2 separate regions of the Homo sapiens genome follow, and region 2 is linked to region 1. Evidence: promoter capture Hi-C in 16 types of primary human blood cells and fetal thymus (Javierre and others, 2016). All regions are on one chromosome and are shown on one strand. Each heading gives the region's core, a stretch centred on a gene start or on the middle of the fragment in contact. The rest is flanking DNA. Distances are from core to core; before and after follow the strand shown.

Region 1 (6,810 bases), core at 2,515-5,014:
TTTGAGCAGATATGTGCTGTCGCTGGAGTGCTAGAGCTTGCCCTCATTAACACCACTAATGAGGGGCAGAGCCTGGATTTGAACAGAACGTAAGCCCATCTCAGTGCTGTGCTCCTAACTACCGCTCTGCTACTGCCTGCACAGAAGTTTGGTATTCATGTGCTGATTAGCACCTGATGCCTCCTTTGGGAAAACTACCAAGTTAAAATAGCTCCAACTTGATTGCAGGGGATCATGCACCCAAGTTGGCCATTTATCTACTGTAGTCTATACTATGGTACTAGTATATGGTAAATATACAATAAGTCTATATCATTTTACATATGAAACTACCCACAAAAAGAGGTAACAGCAAATACAGCGTGGTTGACTGTGGGCAGTGGTTCAAGGTCAGAGCTGTGCTCCCTACTGTTATGCTTGTTAAGCCTCAGTTTGCTCAGCTGTAAAAGTGGATAATAGTAATTTATACCTTAAGGTTGTCTGAGTTAAAAAAAAAAATGCATGATAAGGCCAGGTGCGGTGGCTCACACCTGTAATCCCAGCACTTTGGGAGGCCGAGATGGGTGGATCACCGGGTCAAGAGATTGAGACCATCCTGGCCAACATGGTGAAACCCCGTCTCTACTAAAAATACAAAAATTAGCTGGGCATGGTCGTGGGCGCCTATAATCCCAGCCACTTAGGAGTCTGAGGCAGGAGAATTGCTTGAACCCAGGAGGCAGAGGTTACATGGTGGTGGGCGCCTATAATCCCAGCCACTTGGGAGGCTGAGGCAGGAGAATCGCTTGAACGCAGGAGGCAGAGGTTGCAGTGAGCAAAGATCACGCGACTGCACTCCAACCTGGTGACAGAGCGAGACTCCGTCTCAAAAAAAAAAAAAATTGCATGATAAAATATGCAGTAATCTTGTCACATATCAAGCTAGATGTATATGCTAATTATTGTTGTTTTAGTATTAAGGATAGAAGGACAGTTTGTGCCATACGGATCCTATCTAGTACATTAGAAAAGGTCATTTAAGGAGCTTTGCTCTTCTTTTAAAATGATGGAAATCATTAGAAATTACTGTTTAAGAGAAACTATAGAATCATTGATATAAATGACTTAATGTCATGGCTTACACTAAATGGAACTTAATCAGTGCTCTCGCTTAAATGTATTTTAGTGTAATTTTTTAAATGTTTGGCCAATAATAATATTAATGAAACAAAATATGTTAATTAGGTACAAGATAGAGAACAAATATTCTATTCTGCCTGTGTTTGCCATATAAGGAGGGAGAGGATTTCGTAATATTTGTAAGGTCAGAAAGAACCTGTCTTTCACCATTGGCCTGAAGCAGAAGGTCTGAGAGGTGGGTGCATCTCATCTAGTTTTTAACAGCAGGGTCACCTTGCATTTGCTTCTGCTCTTGCCTCCCTGCTTTAGATAGTTACAAGTATAAGAACTGCAGCTGGCACTTGTATTAATACTTGTATTAATGCAAAACTTTCAGCCAGGTAGGAAGAGCAAATAGTACATTCATCTTCATCTTGTAGAGGAAGAATCTGAGACCTAGCGAAGTCGAGATTTGATTAACATCACGTAGCTGGCTAGGGGCAGAATTGGGAAGGTCCTCATTTGTGGCTCTACCCCATTTCCTCTCAAGCATTCCTGTGTGCTTGGTCCAAGCCTTGGGTTCTTTCATTACCAACCCCAGCGTCTCAGCATATCACCTGGATCGTGGGAATCTAGAGATGCAAGGGGCCTCTAATGACCCTCTGATCTAATCCCTTCATTTTACCTGTGAGGAAGGGAAGTGAGCTCCTGGGGAATTCAGAGACTTGCCTAAGTCACACTGATAATATTTGGTACAATCAGCCCTTAAACCCAGGTCATTTTGCTGTGAGTCCTGGGCTTTCTACTTTAAACCCAAACTACTGCCTCTTGCCTGCATAGAGAACATCTACCCTGGAGACTGGGGGATGCTTCTAGGGAGGTGACTTTACGTAGATTTCACCTCACTTCTGTCCTGTCTTCACAACCTTACCCTTTATTGGGCTTTGAGGGATTTTCATGGATTTTCCAGGCTTTTCTTATTTCAGGAGCATACAAGGAACTAATGGCCATTGTGGTCTCCTCTATCTTAACTTTCCTTGGTATTTTCTCAGAGTAAAGAGCTAAGCGTGAAATATTTTGTTGTTGTGGTTCTTAAAGAGAGTTAAATGCCAAGATATTAAGGAAGAAAAGCAGGCAGACTCTGAAGAGCACAAACAGCACAACTCTAAATAAGAACATTCCTTTTAACTTAGTCTTCCTTTTCCCACCCACATCTCTGAATGCAGTAAATCCTCTTAGCATGTTATCTCTGGTTAGGGCATTTTCTCAGTGTCTTCATGAAATAAAGATTTTCTGGCGGGATACTTTCTTTTTATAGGCTGTATCCTTAAATATGAAATTCAGCCATCCATCTGCTCTTCTAGGCCCTTGTCCTTAACCCATGTATACCTGCAACACATTTCAAGTAGAGGTCAGAAACAAGAGTCTGAGGATGAGATGTTGCTGAAGGATTAAGAGAATATGCCTCTTTGATCCCTAACTTCATGGAGACAGTTAATCTCAATTGGCAGAAATAATAAATATCAACAGGGTGTCTGGCTTTTTTCCCCCCAGTATAAAGTAATATAGAACCAGATTTGTTGCTGTTCATATTGCTAGTAAATTGGAGAACAATTATGAAAGAAATCTCTTGTTAAAAATGTTAATATACCTAAAATAAAAGCAGATTCAACTTGAGAATGTGATGTAAAATTCCATAGCAGATAAATCTTAAAATAAGAAATCAAAAAGTCACTCTACTTTAGGCTCATCTATCTTTTAAAAGTCCTTATTAAAATTTAAAAGAACTGAGATCTCCATGCTTGCTTCTTGTTTTCCTCATTGCAGTGAAAACTTCCCAAACAGTTTGAATGTGGAACAACAGTAAGCTGTTCCTAACCTGTTTGTCAGTCACTGGGCAGTTTTCTCAGTGCCTTTCCTGACATGTTTTAACATGACTTCTCCAGGGATCAGAATGAGGATTGCCCTGTTCTTTGTGGTACAATGAAAAGACTGAGATTATTTTATCAAAATGAGACAGTTGGGAAAGAGAAAAATCTTTGTCTCTCTCTTTAAAAAAAAACAATACGGATAAACGATTATGAAACAAATTTTAAGTTTTGGGTCCTGGGAAACAATTATAAGAGACTTTGACTTTTACTCATCTAATAAAGTAAATGTGGTTTAAAAAAAAATGTACTAAATAGGAGTGATTGCCAAAACATTGTTTCTACTTTTGAAGGCACAATATGTAGTTTATATTTCTGCCTGCCTGAGCTGGAAACAGTTGAAGCTTCATGGCTCACAGTGGTGCCTCATATCTTACTGTCAGCATTCTAATTTCTAGTTTTTCTTCAAACCTCAGAGTTAAGCAGAAGTATAATTACAGTTTTTAATCATTGCTGTGTCTTATCAACCACGGCTTTTAAGAAAATGAAAAATTTTTCGTTTACCTTTCATTGTGGTGGCTGGCTGTCCATTCACCTCATACGGTGTCTTCAAGTTGAAACAGGTTTCTTGTCTCTAATTAAGAATAAGCTTTGAAACTAAGGTCGGCAGGGAAGTGGATTTTCTGGTAAAGCATGAAAACGAAACATCTCCCCTACCAGACAAGGTAGGTATCTCCCTTACCCCTTTAGAGATTGTCCTTTGGGGCACCCTTTCAAATTCTCCTGCCAGGCGACTACTGGAACAACTTGCTCTCTTGCTAATGTAAATGACTCATAACTAAGAGTAGGTGAGATTTGTCGACTGGGGAAGAGTATTTCCTGAACCTGCAGGAATCAGATGGTGATTCACCTGAAGGAAACACAGAGGGCTGGAGCTTAGACTGCCAGAAGTCTGCTTAAGGAGTGGGGGATGAAGTCTCGGGTTGGGGCCTACTAACTCATCAGATCCAATTTTTAGGTCATTTTTTTTTTCCAGCCTCCTATTGCTATCTAGAAAACATGTATTTGCAGCCTTCCTGCCAATTAAATTTTGGATTAAAAGAAATAAGAATATGCTTTATGACAGATGAATTCTTTGAAAATATTATTCTACATATTATTTAAAGAGTATTGTTGTAATTGATAACTTTGGAAACTTGTAGTCTTATGAAACTAATGAAATCTGTAGACATATTTTTACACATACACAATAGACATATTTTTACACATACACAATGATAAGTATTCAAAATATGTTAAATTATTCAGGGGCTGGGTTCACTGACTCCTTTGAATGCTGACCTTTAACATAAAACAATTTATTTTATTGCTTTAAAAAAGCATCCAACAATGACAAATTTATATAATCATATCACTTTTTTTTTTTTTTTTTTTTTTTTTTTTTTGTGAGACGGAGTCTCACACTGTTGCCCGGGCTGGTATGCAGTGGCATGATCTCAGCTTGCTGCAACCTCCACCTCCCGGATTCAAGTGATTCTCCTGCCTCAGCCTCCTGAGTAGGTAGGATTACAGGTGCCCACGACTACACCCGGCTAATTTTTTGTATTTTTAGTAGAGACGGGGTTTCTCTATGTTGGCCAGGCTGGTCCTGAACTCCTGACCTCATGATCCGCCCGCCTCAGCCTCCCAAAGTGCTGGGATTACATGTGTGAGCCACTGCGCCCGGCCACTTTTTCTGATTTGTAAATAATTTTCTTGCTTTCAGATGAGAATCTCAAAGATTCTGATATTTTCTTGAATGCAACATTTAAATACATTTAAAAAAATAAAATTTCATCAAATGGAATCAAAACCTGTTATTGTGGATGAAGATAAATGAAAATAATCAAAGGTGAAAACTTTTTTGGAGTGAATAAATCTATAATAGGTATTACTTAGTGTTTACTTGTGTCTTAAGGAAATAATGTGTACGTACTAGTTGATTTTCCTTATGTTTTTACAGAAAAACAAATGGGTGTTTAACTTAAAAATCAAGAGTTGGGTATCAAAATTATATTTTTTGTATTTTCCTATCTGCTTCCTAACCATACAAAAACAGACACCTACAATTTTAATTTTTTTTTTTTTTACATTCTGCTTTGGGTGGATTAAGTATGTTACGGAAAAGTAGCTAGTCCTGGGGAAGGTGTTTGAATAACAATTAGCCAACTTAATAATGGCCTAATCTTTTAAGAATTTGCAGATTTACAAACAATCCTTCATTTAGTTTTGACTCTCTCTGTGCTATTTTATACTTCCCCATTGATTTAGCATTTGAAGCCAGTTTCTTTTCTTTTCTTCTTTTTTTTTTTTTGAAACCAGTTTGTTGTATTTTGAGCAGAAGGGTTATGCTATGCAGACTTTAGTTTGGGAGATTTGTCCTTGTGTTGACCTTTTTGCCATTTTTTCATGATGATTCATAAATAATAAATGAGGTACTGCTCATAATTTGACATTTTACTGCCAGAACAACTAACTGTTAAGTACTAAAGGCATCAGTCAAAGGGAGAAGCATCTCTTATGGCCCCCATAAAAGTATGTTGTGCAAAGAACTTTGCTGCAAGTACTGAGGATTATCACCCCAAATTTCCAGTGATGTGTATAAAATCTTAGTAGGGAGCTTATTCTGACAGATATTTGACAGGCTTCTGTTATAAGAATAAAGACCTTTTAAAAAAAAGAGAGGGCCCTACTGTGAAAGGGTTATCATAGGCCCTTCTAAGTGCGAAGAAGGGCTTGTGAGGGGCCTATGAAATTTTCCTGTATAATGAAGCATCTTTAACTTTATGTGTGATGGTGTTAAGTAGGAAATAAGGTGATGTCCCTTCACTACAGTAGGTGGCCCCCTTTTTCTCCTGAAGTGGGCTTGGGATAGGATGCACTTTTTCCTTTCCCAATACCTCTGTAAGCAACGTGCCCGGGACGGTAGCCTAACAGCTGGCTTGGAGTGTTTCAGTGTTTCGTTGGCTGGCAGCGCAAATTTAGTATAGTAACAAAAAAGTTAACGCAAGGCAGCCTTTATGCGTTAGTCTTAAAGTATATTATGCCAGTCTCAAGTTGGGACTTGTGAAAGCTGGTCTTACCTAACATTCCAAAAGGGAAGTAATACATGTTTAGTCATGAAAAAAGTGTAACACTTTGATGCAAAGAGCAGCTAACAGCCAGCCCATAGCTTTATTATTGTTCACATAATCGAAAGGTAAACCAGCATAATTTTTTTCCTGCTGGTTTTTATAGCAAGTCTCACATTTCATAAAAGCCCCGGGAATCTTCATAGCGATAATTTCCTTTCCACTTCATTGGAAAATCCTGTTAAATGCAGGGCACTCTTTTATTAATTTTGTTTAGCCATTACAAACCCCAAATTTATTTTAAATACAGAACATCCAGGTGTGTGTGTGTGTGTGCGTGTGTGTGTGTGTGTGTGTGTGTGTGTGTGTGTGTGTCGGCCACCAGAAAACTTTAAAAAATTTTGTTTTGTTTTTATACTAGGGTGATTTTTTTCCTTCTAACATTATTTTTAAAGGTATTAAGACTACAAACAAATTGAAAGAATTGTTCAACTAGATTTCATCTAGATTTATAAATTGTTACTGTTTTTCACATATACTCTTCCCCACTCCAACATATTTACTGACGACAGTAAAATGTCAGATTATGAGCAGTACCTCATTTATTATTTATGAATCATCATGAAAAATGGCAAAATCTGCATAGCATAACTCTTTACTCAAAATACAACAAACTGGCAACAAACTAAACCAAACATATTTGGTTTAGTCACAGAAATTCAAATGAGGATTCC
Region 2 (6,512 bases), core at 3,621-6,120, 1.1 Mb after region 1:
CATGTTCTAACGTAAGGGCAAAGAAGGAAGGTGAAGTGGTGGAGGAATAGTTTCTGAGTTACTGGAAAATATGAATGTAGACATTATTAATAAAGATTAATAATAAACCTTTTCTGGTTTAGAGCCTAATTCACATGCTTTTAAACAGTTGACATGAAATATTTCATAGATTTAAATGGGGATCAGTCTTTATACATACCCTTTTTATACAGTCATGCATCTCTTTTTTTTTTGAGATGGAGTTTCACTCTTGTTGCCTAGGCTGGAGTGCAGTGGCGTGATCTCGGCTCACCACAACCTCCGCCTCCCAGGTTCAATCGATTCTCCGGCCTCAGCCTCCAGAGTAGCTGGGACTACAGGCATGCATCACCATGCCCGGCTAATTTTTGTATTTTTAGTAGAGATGGGGTTTCTCCATGTTGGTCAGGCTGGTCTTGAACCCCTGACCTCAGGTGATCCACCCACCTCAGCCTCCCAAAGTACTAGGAGTAGCACAGGTAGCACAGGCATGAGCCACAGTGCCTGGCCCCGTATCTCTTAACGATTGGGATATGTTCTGAGGAATGCATTGTTAGGTGATTTTGTCATTATGTAAACATCATAGAGTATACGTGCACACACCTGGACGATATGGCCTCCTACATATCCAGGCTATGTGGTTATAGCCTATTGCTTCTAGGCTGGAAACCTGTACTGCGTGTAACTGTACTGAATACCAAGGGCAATTGTATCTCAGTGGTATTTGTGTATCTAGACATAGAAAAGGCACAGTAAACATATGGTATGAGAGATTACAAATTTTTACACCTGTATAGTATATTTATGATGACTGGAACTTGCAGGACTGGAAGTTGTTCTGGATGAGTGAGTGAGTAGTGAGTGAATGTGAAGGCCTCAGAGATTACTATACATGACTGTTGGCTTTACAAACACTGTGCTCTTAGGCTATACTAAATGTATATGTTTTGTTCTTCAACAAATTAACCTTAATGTAATTTATTTATTTATTTATTTATTTTTTGAGATGGAGTCTCGCTCTGTTGCCCAGGCTGGACTGCAGTAGCACGATCTCAGCTCACTGCAACATATGCCTCCCGGGTTCAAGAAATTCTCCTGCCTCAGCCTCCCAAGTAGCTGGGACTACAGGCTGCCATGCCTGGCTAATTTTTGTATTTTTAGTAGAGACGGGGTTTCACCATATTGGCCAGGCTGGTCTCGAACTCCTGACCTTGTGATCCACCTGCTTCGGCCTCCCAAAGAACTTTTTTAAATTTATAATTAAAAAAAAAAAAACTTACTGACTCTTTTGTAATAACACTTAGCTTAAAATGCAAACAGATTGTACATCTGTACAAAAACTTTTTTATATCTTTAAGGCTTTTCTCTATTTTTTTTTTTATTTTGTAAACCTTTAAAAACTAAGACACAAACGTATATGTTATTTTAGGCCTACACAGGGTTGGGACCATTAATATCAATGTCTTCTTCACTCCACATCTTGTCCCACTAGAAGGTCTTCAAGAATGATACCATGCATGGAGCTGTCATCTCCTATGATAACAATGCCTTCTTCTGGAATACCTCCTGAAGGGCCTGCTGGAGGCTGTTTTACAGTTAACTTTTTTTTTTTAATTATTAGAAAGAGTACATGCTAATGATAAGTAGTATAGTAAATAAGTAAACCAGTAGCACAATCATTTATTATCATGTATTTTGTACTGTACATAATTGTATTGTTATGCACACACACACACACACACACACACACACACACTCTGATATAAGTGGGTTGTAGTCCTCTGGTGACTTAGGCCGAGATAGTTTTTGAAAATGAAATGCCATACCTTCTTTATTGTAGTGGCAAATCAAAGCTAAGTAGCAGTAAAACTGTTAATGGACTAGGATACTTGATGCAGGGAGAGGGTCACAGGGCACAGGCAAGAATGCCCTTGCCCTAAAGACTGCAGAGTAGCAGAGCAGGAGCAGCACTTTGTGGAAAGACCCAGCTTAACCAGAACAATGCCCAAAAACCTTTGAAGTGCAGTGATGTGAGAGCGAGACTAGAAAACTTTCATTTAACAAATCTAGATAAACTTAAAATAAGAACAACAGCTATACTCTACCTGTGTTCTCTAGGTGCTAGGTATTGACTTCACACAAATGTTCATTTAAATCCTCTTATATAACCTTATCAGGGAGATAGTATAGTTATTCCCATTTTATTGGTGAAGAAACAGAGGTTTAGAGGATTAAGTGCTATGTACAAGGCCGCAGGGCTGGTAAATGGCAAAATTGGGATTTGAACCTGAATACATCTTTCTGCTTTTTGAGTTCCTACTATTAAGCACTCTCTCCTTTTTCAGTTTTAAAGGAATGTTGCAGCATAATATTACACATTAAGTTGCCCTTTCTTAGATAAATTAAAACCTTACCTAAAATGAATAATGATTCTAAGTTTGAACCATGAAATCTTCATAGCAAGGACGGATGTTATGTAACTGCTTAAACTTCTGTTCACAGATTTTTGACACTACCTTTCAAATTTATGACCTTCTTTCTATGTTTTCGTTTTTTCTTCCAGTTCTTCATACCTATAAACCTTCCTCCTTTTGACCTTGTTATTTGCATTTGAAAACTTGGTCCATAAAGCTTTCCTGAAAATCACATGGGAAGCAGTATTTCATACAGCTCCAGAAAACTTTTGGAAGGAAGGCTGACAGTGTTGGGGGCTTAATTCTACATGCTTCTTTATTCTCTGCATTTAGCTCCTGCCTGACATGTGCAGCATATTGCTAAACACATGTGAGACATTATTGTAGTGATATTTCCTATAGAAAACACCTTGGTATAATTCAAGATGAAAAATAGAATATACATGAGAGGTGAAAAGGCAACTTTGATTAGTAAAGTGCTGACATCCCAGTTGGAAGCACTGAGAAGTACATTCAATTGCCTCTGGCTTGCTGAATCTGTCTATCCCATACCCACCCCCATCTCACAGGGCTAACAGGGAAGCACATTTTGAAAATTCTGATGAATGCATTCCAATTCTCTTTTGGTGGGAAAGGCTGAGTTTGCAGGGAATTGGTAGTAAAGTATTGGCACTTTCTTTGTTTCTATAATATCAATAAATTGCAAACTGTCGTTTCTTTTACTGAACATGTGTTTCAAATACAGAGCTCATCATTAAGTCCTGTCATTTTGTGCAAAAAAAAAAAGTATGATTACATTATAGAGAAGCAGTTGACATTTATAAATAGTAAGTAGTGGCATAAAGACTTTTCTCTTTACGTAGTGCAACATGAACAGAAATCTCCGCAAGAAGTACCTGAAGATGGGTCTTAATATTTTTTTAAATATAATCCCCTGCTTAGGTAACATTACACATAGGTTAATGTGTATTTCACTTATTTCTTTGTAATACTTTTATTATCAATTTCAGAGCTCATTTCTGAGACAAAAATTCAGAACTAAAATTGATATTAAAACCATTGGAGTGGTGTTAATGGGAGACAGAGTTAAACAAATTGAGCCTTTTGTACATATTTACATTTCATGTGCTTTTTAAAAACTCAAAAAATGAATGGAATGCTTTTGAAAATCAGCATACTTATTCTACTTCTTCCTCTTTGAATAAACTGCTATCCCAGAATTTCTACTTTTTAAAAGCAGCAACAAGAAGTAAAACAAAACATTCAAAGCCTTGATGTTGAGATTTTGAATAATACATGTCTGTTTTAACATTTATCCTTAACCCCTTTCTATTTTTATCCTCTTTGGCAAAATTATGTAATAGCCTTAACTGGGTGAGCCATAGTCTCCAGATGGGTAAGATATACACAGAGAAGGAAGATATATTACAAAAGCACCTTTTAGAATATTCCATGTTCTGGCAATACAAACACGTTCTTCTGAAAGGTAGCTACTCCCAGTTTTTTGCAGTAATGTCAGGGAAACTTTATATGAGATGTAAAAATATTCCTGAGAAGTATTCTGAGTAGAAAATCCCAAAGGCCTTCTTTTTTTGTTGTTTTTAACAGGAAAACATGCTTGTACAGATGGCTAGTTGAATTTTCTAGCTTTTAAAATGGTGTACAATTTGTTGCGTTGGATCCTAAGTTTCTAGAGTGCTGCTATCTTATTGCTTCAAGGTACCTCCTAAAAGAAGCCCAGAATCTCTTGCCAAGATGCCTCCCATAGGAAGGTACCAGAACTCCTTTACATAAACATCTCTGTTCTCTCACCCAGCCCTCCCTGGCCTGTCTCCTTGACTTCTGTCATTCCTCCCTGAAATCCCTTTTCCATGAATACCTGCTTTCTAGATAGTCCTGAACTGCTGGAAAATAGATATTGTATTCCCAATAGACTGGGAGTAGAAAGGGCCCCTGGCCATTGATGGCTTTTAAATCTGGAATGTAGGTTAGAGCTACAAATTAGCTTGCAGCTACAGTCTATCTTAGAGAATTTCTTGATATCCAAGACTAATCCTAGGTATCAGATAACTTTTAATGGGCATGATAATTTTAGGCCTTTTACTTTCTGAGCATTGAATCTACCCAAGAATAGCAGCAAAGAGCTAAAAGTCTCTGGAACTGTACTGAAACACTGGGTGAGAAAGCCATTGACTTACCTTCTTAAGGAAATGAATGTTACGGTGAAATATGATTCAGGTCTGAGGGAATATCGTTTGACTATTAGTATCCCAGCTTTATTTGTACCTCTTCTTGAGAGTGTTTCTCATGAAGTTACCTTCCATTAATGTCTTCTATAGCTAGCTTTCTTTACCAGTTGGAATTGCATTTTGTATTTCTTTTTCTATCCTGCATCACCCAGCATAATGATAAGCAAGTAGATACCTTATATATTTATTAATGGATAAATATGAGTATTAACAACACATTGTGGATATATGTTCCCCTTTCCTGTGCGTGAGCTATAGTTGGCACAGTGAATTTCAGCATTATGTAGTTCACTAGTTCTTTGTAGAAATTGTTTTCTCAAAGGTAATTTCTTTATCGCCTTTAGTAGGAGATATGAAATTATTTTAAATAATTTTTTCTGAGAACTATACTGAAAAAATAGTGCCTAATTTATTAAGCTATTCCAGTGGTTATTGAGAGTAACCAATTTAGTTATAAATCTATTTTTATCACTGACATTCAGTTCATCCTACATGGTTTTCCAAAACGAACCTACCATTTTAAAAACCAAGATTGTTGGGTAGATTTTCTTCACAATTTCATCCAAAGTGAGAATCTCTGAGACAGCAGTAATATTTTGAGGGCAAAACCAAATTTTTCCAAAGGGTAACAGATAACATTGTTTATAATTTGCAAAATAGTCATAGTCAATTAGTGTGAAATACATATTTTAACTAAATGTGTACTGTGATTAAAGCTATAAGAAGTCTGTCTGACTATTTATATACAGTGAGAAGAGTCTTTCACAGACTGTTTGCTTAATTGCTGCATTTTTAAACACCACTAGCTATTTGAATTTCAGTTTGACACTGTTTTAGTTCTGAATATAGCCTGCCAAATTTGTTTATACGGTACATATGCCTCATGCAGATGTCTCTGACACCTTAATTGTTCTGTGACCTTGTACAAATTATTTAATTTCACAGGATGTCTGAATCCTTGTCAGCAAAGTGGGGAGTAACAGTACTGGTGCTATAGAATCCTTGACAGAATTATGTGAGATCTACTCTTTCCTTTATTCAGCACTCTGTGGCACACTCTAAGCTAGGTGAAACAGGGTGCCTGCCCTCATGGATCTTATTCCCTAGTGCAGGAATTAGTTGATAAATAAACACATAAATAAGCAACATAATTACAGGCATGACAAGTACTATACAGAAAATAAACAGGGACAGGTGTCAGATGGAGCCTGACTCTGGGAGACCTTTAGATGGGTGTTATGTCCAGTACTCTTGGAAGAGCATAAACAATAAATAGTAATTTTCTCCCTTCATCATCCATAGTTAATTTTTCTTTTTTTGTCCCGAGAGGGAGTCTCACTCTATTGCCAGAGTGGAGCGCAGTGGAGCGATCTCGGCTCACTGCAATCTCCACCTCCCAGGTTCAAGCGATTCTGCTGCCTCAGCCTCCCGAGTAGCTGGGACCACAAACATGCACCACCACGCCAGGCTAATTTTTGTTTGTATTTTAGTAGAGACGGGTTTCACCATGTTGGCCAGGATGGTCTTGATCCCCTGACCTCGTGATCCACCTGCCTCAGCCTCCCAAAGTGCTGGGATTACAGGTGTGAGCTACCGTGCCCGGCCTTCAGCTTTTATTTAATTATTATATTCACAGTCTATAAAACAAAAATATGGATAAGTAGTTTTTATCCTGTGAGAAATATTTTTAAAGTTTAAGATTTTGTAGCAGACATGTTATTGCTTCAAGGTTAACGGAGTGACTAGTACATTTTCATTATTTTGTGGCATAATATAAATTATTTTAAACTTTTTGTTTAAATAAAATGCAGGCCAACTGTTGCGCTGTTTA

Evidence for each region. Contacts are between HindIII fragments. The CHiCAGO score rates a contact against its expected background, and 5 or more counts as called.
Region 2: a fragment that was not itself captured here is called in contact with the fragment with the promoter of GPR87 in region 1 in 1 of 17 cell types (neutrophils); the score reaches 5.3 in neutrophils.

What each region holds. Positions count from the first base shown.
Region 1 is chr3:151,313,056-151,319,865 of GRCh38, forward strand. It overlaps GPR87 (G protein-coupled receptor 87), which reads right to left and starts at 3,765. Exons shown (of 3, transcript NM_023915.4): 1 at 3,531-3,765. The region is part of intron 16 of MED12L (mediator complex subunit 12L); the gene reads left to right. RefSeq lists an enhancer at 3,151-4,350. The HindIII fragment of the contact is 4,276 bases long and covers 3,614-6,810 here.
Region 2 is chr3:152,388,873-152,395,384 of GRCh38, forward strand. The region is part of intron 2 of MBNL1 (muscleblind like splicing regulator 1); the gene reads left to right. Among named protein-coding and RNA genes, the nearest start is that of MBNL1-AS1, 120 kb to the left of the region's middle. The HindIII fragment of the contact is 4,446 bases long and covers 2,648-6,512 here.